2 separate regions of the Homo sapiens genome follow, and region 1 is linked to region 2. The links are contacts of gene promoters, found by promoter capture Hi-C in blood cells and fetal thymus (Javierre and others, 2016). All regions are on one chromosome and are shown on one strand. The core of a region is centred on a gene start or on the middle of the fragment in contact, and the rest is flanking DNA. Distances in the headings are between cores, read along the strand shown. Region 1 holds the start of MCCC2 (methylcrotonyl-CoA carboxylase subunit 2). Region 2 holds the start of SGTB (small glutamine rich tetratricopeptide repeat co-chaperone beta).

Region 1 (4,395 bases), core at 168-2,667, 5.9 Mb before region 2:
CTCTTGGTTTATACAGTCTTACCTTCCATCCTGCACCCTGAACTTGGCCAGCTCTTACCCAAGATTCATCTCACCCATTACTTCCTATCGGTAGCTTTCTGTAACCACCTTCTCAAGCTTTAGACAACCCTTCTTACACTGTACCACAGTTACCTGCTTTCTTGTCCATCTTCCCTACAAAATTATTAGTTCCATTCCTACGCATCCATGCCAAATATCTAAAATAGTGCCTAGACCACAATAACCACTTAATAATTCTGAATTAAACATTCTGGACTGACAAACAATTGTGTGTTGTTTGCACTATTTAGATGTTATCTGTATAGGCTTAGAAATCGTGGGAACACAGTGAAATTTTCCAGCTCTGATATTTCGCAAGTTTTGAGTTTTTTGGCCTTATGATGCCTCCTAATTCCAAGAAAAGCCACTCAAAGATACTGTGGGATATTTTCTATTAACATAACCAACTTTTTTTTTTTTTTTTTTTTGAGACAGAGTTCGCTCTTGTTGCCAAGGCTGGAGTGCAATGGCACGATCTCAGCTCACTGCAACCTCCGCCTCCCAAGTTCAAGCGATTCCCCTGCCTCAGCCTCCCAGGTAGCTGGGATTACAGGCGCGCGCCACCATGCCCGGCTAATTTTTGTATTCTTAGTAGAGATGGGGTTTCACCACGTTGGCCAGGCTGTTCTCGAACTCCTGATCTCAGGTAATCCACCCGCCAGGGCCTCCCAAAGCGCTGGGATTACAGGCGTGAGCCACTGGGCTCGGCCATCATAATCAACTTTTAAACTCAAATTTCCTAAGCACAGCGCCCCTCGTTGGGCTGCTCTAGGCCAGTGGTTCCCAAAGCTGGCTGCCAAAAGTCCCCTAATGAGTTCACTAACAATATAAACACAGCGACTCCACCTGAGACCCACAAGGTCCAGAGTAGGGCTCAGGCAGCTATTCAGCTAGCTCCCCAGGTGGCAATTCTAAACCAGGCTTTAAGAACCACTGATTTCAAAGACACAAAGTACAGTGCCAGCTCTAAAAGTGAACTAAACTTTCTTGTATCTGTTAGGCTTTTCTTCTTCAAACTTCACGTGCGTCACAGAATCAACTGGGGCTCCGGACAAGAGAGCAGCAGTTGTTGAAGCGTGCCCCTCCTCCACTTGCTTCCTAGCCTGGCACCGGCGGCCAGGCCACCGGGGCGCTCAGCCTACCTGGTAGAGGGCAGAGCCCAAGTCCGGCTGGGTGCCCAGCGAGGCCACCGAGTCCCCGTGATAGGCGCGCGGCCCGGCGGGAGAGGCGCGGGCACACGGCCGCAGGGCTAACCTCAGGACGGCCCACATGGCGGCGGGCACCGAGCGAGAGAGCGGCCCACGCTGGCCTGGAGCCGGTGCTTTCCCCTGCCGCTTCCCTGGCTGGGGCGGAAGCTGAGCTCAGGTCCTTGCAGCCCCAGAGAAGGTTTCTCTGATTCTCAGGCCTGTCCACACACGTGCCTAAGCGCGCCGCCCGCGATTGGTCAAGCCGCGCCACGCCCCCTGACCCAGCCAATAAGGGACAGAGCCTCAGCCCCGCGAGGTCGCGTCTAGTCCCGAGCGCAGGAGAGCAGGTCTCCCCGGCGGATCGACCCTCACGAAGCGGTGCGGCAGTGAGAGAGCTGCGGTTGGGCTTGGATTGGTGTTGTGTTGACACAGCGATAGATAATATCACGATAGTGACTGTACCTAAGGCAGGAGAATAAGTCTGGAAGCAGGGAACCTAAGGCTGTCTCACGCTGACTTCCTAGAGCTAAACTGAAAGGAAAACCCTAACTTTCCATGCCTAAGTAACAAAAGGACCAAAGGCTACTCCCTTTGCAAACCCCCCCACCTTTTCCGCAGGGCAGATAGGAAATTGGCTGTCCCCGACAAATCAGACTTACTGCTGGTGGAGGCTTGCTTTGCCAAGTTTGAACCTTAACTCCAGCCTCTGAATGGTTGCTGTCCACAACCAATCAGACTGATTGGGGGTCCAGTCTTCGTTTGCATAGAAGTATAACTTTGTAATTTCACCCTAGCCTCTGACTGCTTGCTTCTTGCAACCAATCGGGTTTGAGGTGAGCATAAAATGGCCAATAGGAAACTTCTAGTGGGTATTTGGACCCAAGAAGATTCTATATCCGGGCCCTTGAGCTCTGCTCGGTCCGCTCCCACATTGTGGAGTGCACTTTCGTTTTCGGTAAATCCCTGCTTTCGTTCTTTCGTTGCCTTGTTCTTTCTTTGCTTTGCTGGGCGTTTTGTCCAATTCTTTGTTCACAATGCCAAGAACCTGGACAACTTGCAGTCACAACCCCCAGTGACACACCAACAACATGAGTGAATCGCATCTAACACGTGCTTGCGAACAGCACAACAAGCCTGTTGTCCTTTCACTGGAGACCTTAAACATTCTTCTGATTATTTTCGCTATGTAGTTATTTTTATTTTTTACTTTATTTCATTTTTTGAGACAGGGCCTCACTCTGTCGCCCAGGCTGCAATGCAGTGGCACGATCACAGCTCGCTGAATCCTTGACCTCCCACCTCAGCCTTTCCAGTAGCTGAGACTACAGGTTTGTGCCACCAAGCCCGGCTAATTTTTTATTTTTGTAGGGGTTTCACCATGTTGGCTATGCTGGTCTTGAACTCCTGGACTCAAGCGATCTGCCCGCCACAGCCTCCCAAAGTGCTGGGATTACAGACATGAGCCACCACACCAGGCACTATGTAGTGACAGATTGTGGACATCAGCACTGTGGTCTTAAATAAAGGACTCCAAATATACCCATAAAAATTAAAACATTCTATACAAAATGCCTTGAACTTAAGGTTTTTCATTCACATATTTATTGAGCACTTACTACTTCTACTCCATTGGTTGCTTAGTGGGGCAGAGTAAAGGGGGAGGATGGGGTAGAGAAAGGGTGCGTCTACACCTGGAGGTAAACTTAGGTTCAGACTTCAAGGTACTTATAAGAAAATAATACAAATGGCCACATGATTTCTTACTGAACTGTGTAGGACAGACATTAAAGGAACAGAATGCAATTGGGAAAGGGTTGCAGCTGAGCCTTGCAGAAGCGTTGAGAGTGGACTGAGCAATGAACATGGCCAGGCTTTGTGCAAATGGAGGAGAGCATGAGCTAAACTGCAAAGGTATGATTTACACTGTGCTTGCCTCCCATGGTCAACAGAAAAAAAGGCCAGTAAAAACTGACTTTTCATATGTATCAGGGTATCAGAAGAGAGGGTTTGATATTTTAATTGCCACACTTTATTTTTCTCTAAATAGTTCTTCAATGATGCAAAGTACTTAAAATCACCACCCGAAGACAGAAAAGACACAATAGGATATGATTCCTTGCTTTCTTTAAAAGTCATACCTGTTTTGGCCGGGTGCAGTGGCTCATGCCTATCATCCTAGCACTTTGGAAGGCCAAGGCAGGTGGATTATCTGAGGTCAGAAGTTTGAGAGCAGCCTGGCCAACATGGTGGAACCTCATCTCTACTAAGAATACAAAAATTAGCCAGGCATAGTATCACGTGCCTGTAATCCCAGCTACCTGGGAGGCTGAGGCAGGAGAATCGCTGGAACCCGAGAGGCAGAGTCTGCAGTGAGCCGACATGGCACCACTGCACTCCAGCCTGGGTGACAGAGCAAGACTCTGTCTCAAAAAAAAAAAAAAAAAAAGTCATACATGTTTCTTATTTCTTGTAACTTTTGTTACAAGAAGCTCTTTGGAAATGTATAATGTTCCCAGAACAGCTAAGTAGAAAAATGCAAAAGGTGAAGTGCAAATGCACAGAAGGCCAAAAGCAGTCACCTAGCATCTGTTAGTGTCCAGTGTCTCTCTACCCCACTATTGAGATTACAAGGAACATAATCTTTGCCATCTCTGATTTTTTAAAATAATGTTTTATTGAGGCCAGGAACTTGAAACTAGCCTAGGCAACATAGTGAGCCCATGTCTCTGAAAAATAAAAATAGCCATGCACAGTGGCATGTGCTTGTAGTCCTAGCTACTTGGAGGGTGAGGTGAGAGAATCACTTGAGTCCAGGAGTTTGAGGCTGCAGTGGGCCATGATCTTGCCAAGCACTTCAGCCTGAGTGACAAGAGCTAGACCCTGTCTCTAAAAAAAACAATAAAAATAAAATAAAAATAAAGTAAAATAATGTTTTTATTTTATTTATTTATTTATTTATTTTTCTGAGAGGGAGTCTCGCTCTGTCGCCCAGGCTGGAGTGCAGTGGCACGATCTCGGCTCACTGCAAGCTCCGCCTCCCGGGTTCATGCCATTCTCCTGCCTCAGCCTCCCGAGTAGCTGGGACTACAGGTGCCCGCCACCACACCTGGCTAATTTTTCATATTTTTAGTAGAAACCGGGTTTCACC
Region 2 (4,283 bases), core at 534-3,033:
CGGTAATTTTTGAAAGGTAAAGGGGTCCTGAGAATAAAAAGTTTGAGAATTGTTCTTTTTTTTTTTTTTTTTTTTTTGAGACGGAGTCTTGCTCTGTCGCCCAGGCTAGAGTACAGTGGTGCGATCTCGGCTCACTGCAAGCTTCGCCTCCCGGGTTCATGCCATTCTCCTGCCTCAGCCTCCCGAGTAGCTGGGACTACAGGCGCCCGCCACCACGCCCGGCTAATTTTTTGTATTTTTTAGTAGAGACGGGGTTTCACCGTGTTAGCCAGGATGGTCTCGATCTCCTGACCTCGTGATCCACCCGCCTCGGCCTCCCAAAGTGCTGGGATTACAGGCATGAGCCACAGCGCCCGGCCGAGAATTGCTCTTATATGAAGATTTATTCCCTCCTCTCACCCCTGCATTATGTGAAGTCTTCATTTCTTGGTATAACTTCATTTGACAGCTATATCGATTGCAGCCTGGAGACTAGCAAAAAACGACAGGCTGAAATATGGTCACCAATCACCACATTAACTCTTTGTAATTAACCACTGTCGCCTGCCTGCTCCCTAACTCTACGGACTGAGCAACACAAAGCTCCATCCACACAGACGAGTGGCAATGTGCAAAAGGGAACTGTAGAAAGCTTAAATGCTGACATGTTACAAAGTAGTTTTGTTGATAGCTAGCAAGAAGCACACATTTTCTTTATTCTGTTGAATCTTCATTTGGATTTACAGTTCTGGGCAGATTTGGAAACGGGGATGGTGGCGGCATTGTTTCCGAAAACCAGCGCATCCGTGCAAAGAATTTAATTCCCTCACCATCTTGCTACTGGTCTGTTGCAGTGGGGTGTGGTTAGAGGGCTAGGAAGCAATCCAAAACAGCAGCTCAGGCTGCCCAAAGCCGTGTCCAAGCGATCATTTTCTCCATTTTGGGCCAAGTCAATTTGCACCGGCAAGAGGCAGAATGTTTGTTTTATGGGGAGGAGGAAAATAAAAAAGGAAGTCAGAGAGCATGGACGGAAACAAGCAACACCACCAAAGAGGTTTCATCTCGGGTGGATGTTAAACGATTGGAATGCTAATAATGGGCGCGAGGAGCAAACACAATTGTTCTGAGTCCACAGCTGCGGCACTTTTAATGACAGGTCTGTAGTTCTGCATTGGGATTGAACGTGAAATGATTTTCTTATCCAAACTATTTGCATTCATTTTGGGCCGCGTCTGTGACCAGCCTCGCTGACTGCGGCTGAGGCAGTCCCAAACAAAGAGGAATGGACGTCCTCCCGAGGGAGCGGAGGCGGGAAAGGTGGCCCCAGGTGGCCGCGCCAGGTGTCCCCCAGGGGTCCACCTTGCAAGCCGCGGGGAGGGTGCGTCCCGGGAGCGTCGGAGAGGCGCGGTCGGGAAGGGGTGGGTCCGGGCTCCAGGCACCACACGGCGAAAGACCCCGCCCTGCCCACGGCCAAGGTTAACCCGCGCGCTGGAGGTACCTGCGGAGGCTTCGCACAGCCAAAAGGCACCGGGCGATCATGGGAGCGCTGAGAGGCTGGCGGCGGCGGGCGCGTGGTCCTTCGGCGTGGGGCGGCGAGGCGGGCGGCAGCGCCTGGGCGCCCGGGAGTCTCGAGCCGGCCTAGCCGCAGAGGCCACAGTGGCTGCCTGGCCAGCGCCCTCCCACGTGCGGCAGCTCCACGCCGGCGCCTACCAGCCCCGCCCCGCGCCGTGCCCCGCCCCAGCTCGCGTGTCTGGCCCCGCCCCAGCCCTCGCGTCCGGCCCCGCCCCAGGGGCGGTGCTGGCCAGACCCTGCCGCCTGAGAGAGAGCACAGCCTGGTGGGTTCTGGGGTCTACGGCCTAGGGGCCGGGGAAGTTTGCGCCGCCGCGACCAGTGCTGCGATCCCGAGCCGGGCTCCAGCCCCGAGGACCAGGGGTCGGGCGGGCCTGCCTACGGAACCCCGCGGGCCAGCAGCAGTCGTCTCGCGTCCTCCTGCTTGGTAAGGGGCTTCTGTCTGGCAAGGGTGCGCCTCCCGCCGCTCCGGACCGGGGCCCGCACCGGCACCCGCTGCACACCGGGCAGGGCCGAGGCGAGGCCGGGTACCTGAGGGAGGACGGAAGGGAGGGGGAGCTCGATGCGCTCTGGGGAGAGGAAGGGGGAGAAGCCTATTTCCCTCTTCTCACCCCTTTTCCCCCCATTCTGTTTTTACCTTCTGCCCTGGGGCCTTATTTAGTGCTTATGACCCCGTGGCCTAGAGGCTGACATCGCCTTTAAAATAACTACACAAATAATAAACATTATAGCGGCGGGTACCACACCCTGGCTTTGAATTAGGGAACCTGGGGAGCAGATGGATGATGCGATTTGGTGGAAATCAGCCATGAATGCCGCCTGGCCCTGCGCCACTGTTTGGATGCGATAGTATTCCATGTGAATGAACATGACCGGGAGCTTCCAGCTTGTCCACGAGAGCACAGCCTCTGCAGGGAGCGCCGGTCGGCTTGTAGTATCCATCGACTTGGGCAGCGATTTCCTGACATGTCTGCTGATTAAATAGAAATGCCATTTTTATTAAGAACGACACTCACCACTTGAATAACCTTTCGCGAATGTGTTTCCTCATCAAATAACTCTCAACCTACAAAAGTGGGTAGAGTGTACATTATTAATACTTTTTTTAGATCCCATGAAAAAGAGGAAGATGCTTGGTATACATCAGCTTTTAGTCAGCAGTATGAAATGCCTCTTAACTTAGTACTGAGGCCTTTAGGGGATTTCTGTATGGTGAGATATGCAGTGACAGTCTAAGCTTATGCTGTACATGTTTTGAAGACATTTTTACTTATTCCAAGATTTAACATACTCGTATACCACTGGGTATTAATGAAAATATGTAATAAATTACCTTCACAATACTTTGTGCTCTCCTGACTCTTTACAAAGAGAAAAGATGAAAGGTCATACAGTTTTGTGTTTTGTTTTTACCTTTAATACACTTTATAACCCATATCATCTTTGTAATTTATGACTTTCCTGACTGATTCTTTAAAATAACTTAGTTCAGTGTTTTCATTTTTCTTATCAAGGAAAAGTGTTTAAGCTTCTAAAATGTCATCTATCAAGCACCTGGTTTATGCAGTTATTCGTTTCTTACGGGAACAAAGTCAGATGGACACTTACACCTCGGATGAACAAGAAAGTTTGGAAGGTATGCATCTGCTCTTTGTGTTCATTTATATTATAATTATAAACGAAGACTAAAATAGCTGTAAGCCCAACTTGATGATCTATTGTAACATAATCAGAATTTTTTTTGATCTTTCAAGAGGAGAGGCCTGACTATAAGGTTATCGTATTTCCATTTTCTGAAGCTTGTTTTGTTTGTTTTAACAACAAATTAAGAGGACTATTGTTCATTTATTGAACAAATACTATATGTCAGAAGTATGCTGTTCATATTATAGGCAATTTTTTCTTCACAGCAACTGTTATGTTAGTATTATCCCCATTTAACAAGTGAGAAAATAAAACCAGGGCCAGGCTTGGTGGCTCATGCCTGTAATCCCAGCACTTTGGGAGGCCGAGGCAGGTAGGTCATTTGAGGTCAGGAGTTCAAGACCAGGCTGGGCAACATGGCAAAACCCTGTCTCTACTAAAAATACAAAAAGTAGCCAGGTGTGGTGGCACTTGCCTGTAGTCCCAGCTACTCAGGAGGCTGAGATAGGAGGGTGGCTTAAACCCAGGAGGTGGAGGTTGCAGTGAGCTGAGATCACACCACTGCACTCCAGCCTGGGCCATGAGCGAGACCCTATCTCAAAAAAAAAAAAAAAAAAAGAAAAAGAAAATGAAACCAAATAGCGTAAGCAGATAACACAGCTGATATGTGATAAAGCTGAGATTTAAATCCTGGTTAATACTCTGAAGATCTTGTTGTCTCCATTTCCTAATAGGAAAGCATCCAGTTTAGAAATAATATATAAAAATACCTGAGTCATTTTAATAGCACTATGTAAAAGTCTAATAATTATACCACTAGTGAGATCTGACCAGTGCCTAATTTGGAACTTGAAATGGGAGCATTTCACCTGTGTTTTACGTTAACTTTAATATTGGATTCGGTAATCTGTAAAGTTGAACAGGATGTGGGTGATAGCATCATGTGTTTCCTCGACACCGTCTTTGTTCTTCATGTTTATGTGTTATAAAATTTAAATTCAGTACAACCATAACAAGGTAGAATTCTGCAGATGGGCTTGTGGAGGTTCAGTGAATCTGGTGTCCCTGTGGCCTAAAGTCTTTTATTTATT

Evidence for each region. Contacts are between HindIII fragments. The CHiCAGO score rates a contact against its expected background, and 5 or more counts as called.
Region 1: a contact is called between the fragment with the promoter of MCCC2 here and the fragment with the promoter of SGTB in region 2, in 4 of 17 cell types (naive B cells, activated CD4 T cells, naive CD8 T cells and 1 more). The highest score is 11.1, in naive B cells.

Annotation. Positions count from the first base shown.
Region 1 is chr5:71,584,362-71,588,756 of GRCh38, reverse strand. It overlaps MCCC2 (methylcrotonyl-CoA carboxylase subunit 2), which reads right to left and starts at 1,417. Exons shown (of 17, transcript NM_022132.5): 1 at 1,203-1,417. The coding sequence starts at 1,331. RefSeq lists an enhancer at 972-1,758. The HindIII fragment of the contact is 6,273 bases long and covers 120-4,395 here.
Region 2 is chr5:65,719,609-65,723,891 of GRCh38, reverse strand. SGTB (small glutamine rich tetratricopeptide repeat co-chaperone beta) reads left to right here and starts at 1,783. Exons shown (of 11, transcript NM_019072.3): 1 at 1,783-1,975; 2 at 3,063-3,184. The coding sequence starts at 3,085. NLN (neurolysin) reads right to left here and starts at 1,687. Exons shown (of 13, transcript NM_020726.5): 1 at 1,478-1,687. The coding sequence starts at 1,518. RefSeq lists enhancers at 423-502, 275-1,096 and silencers at 1,373-1,982, 2,053-2,102, 2,163-2,212, 4,257-4,283. The HindIII fragment of the contact is 2,154 bases long and covers 634-2,787 here.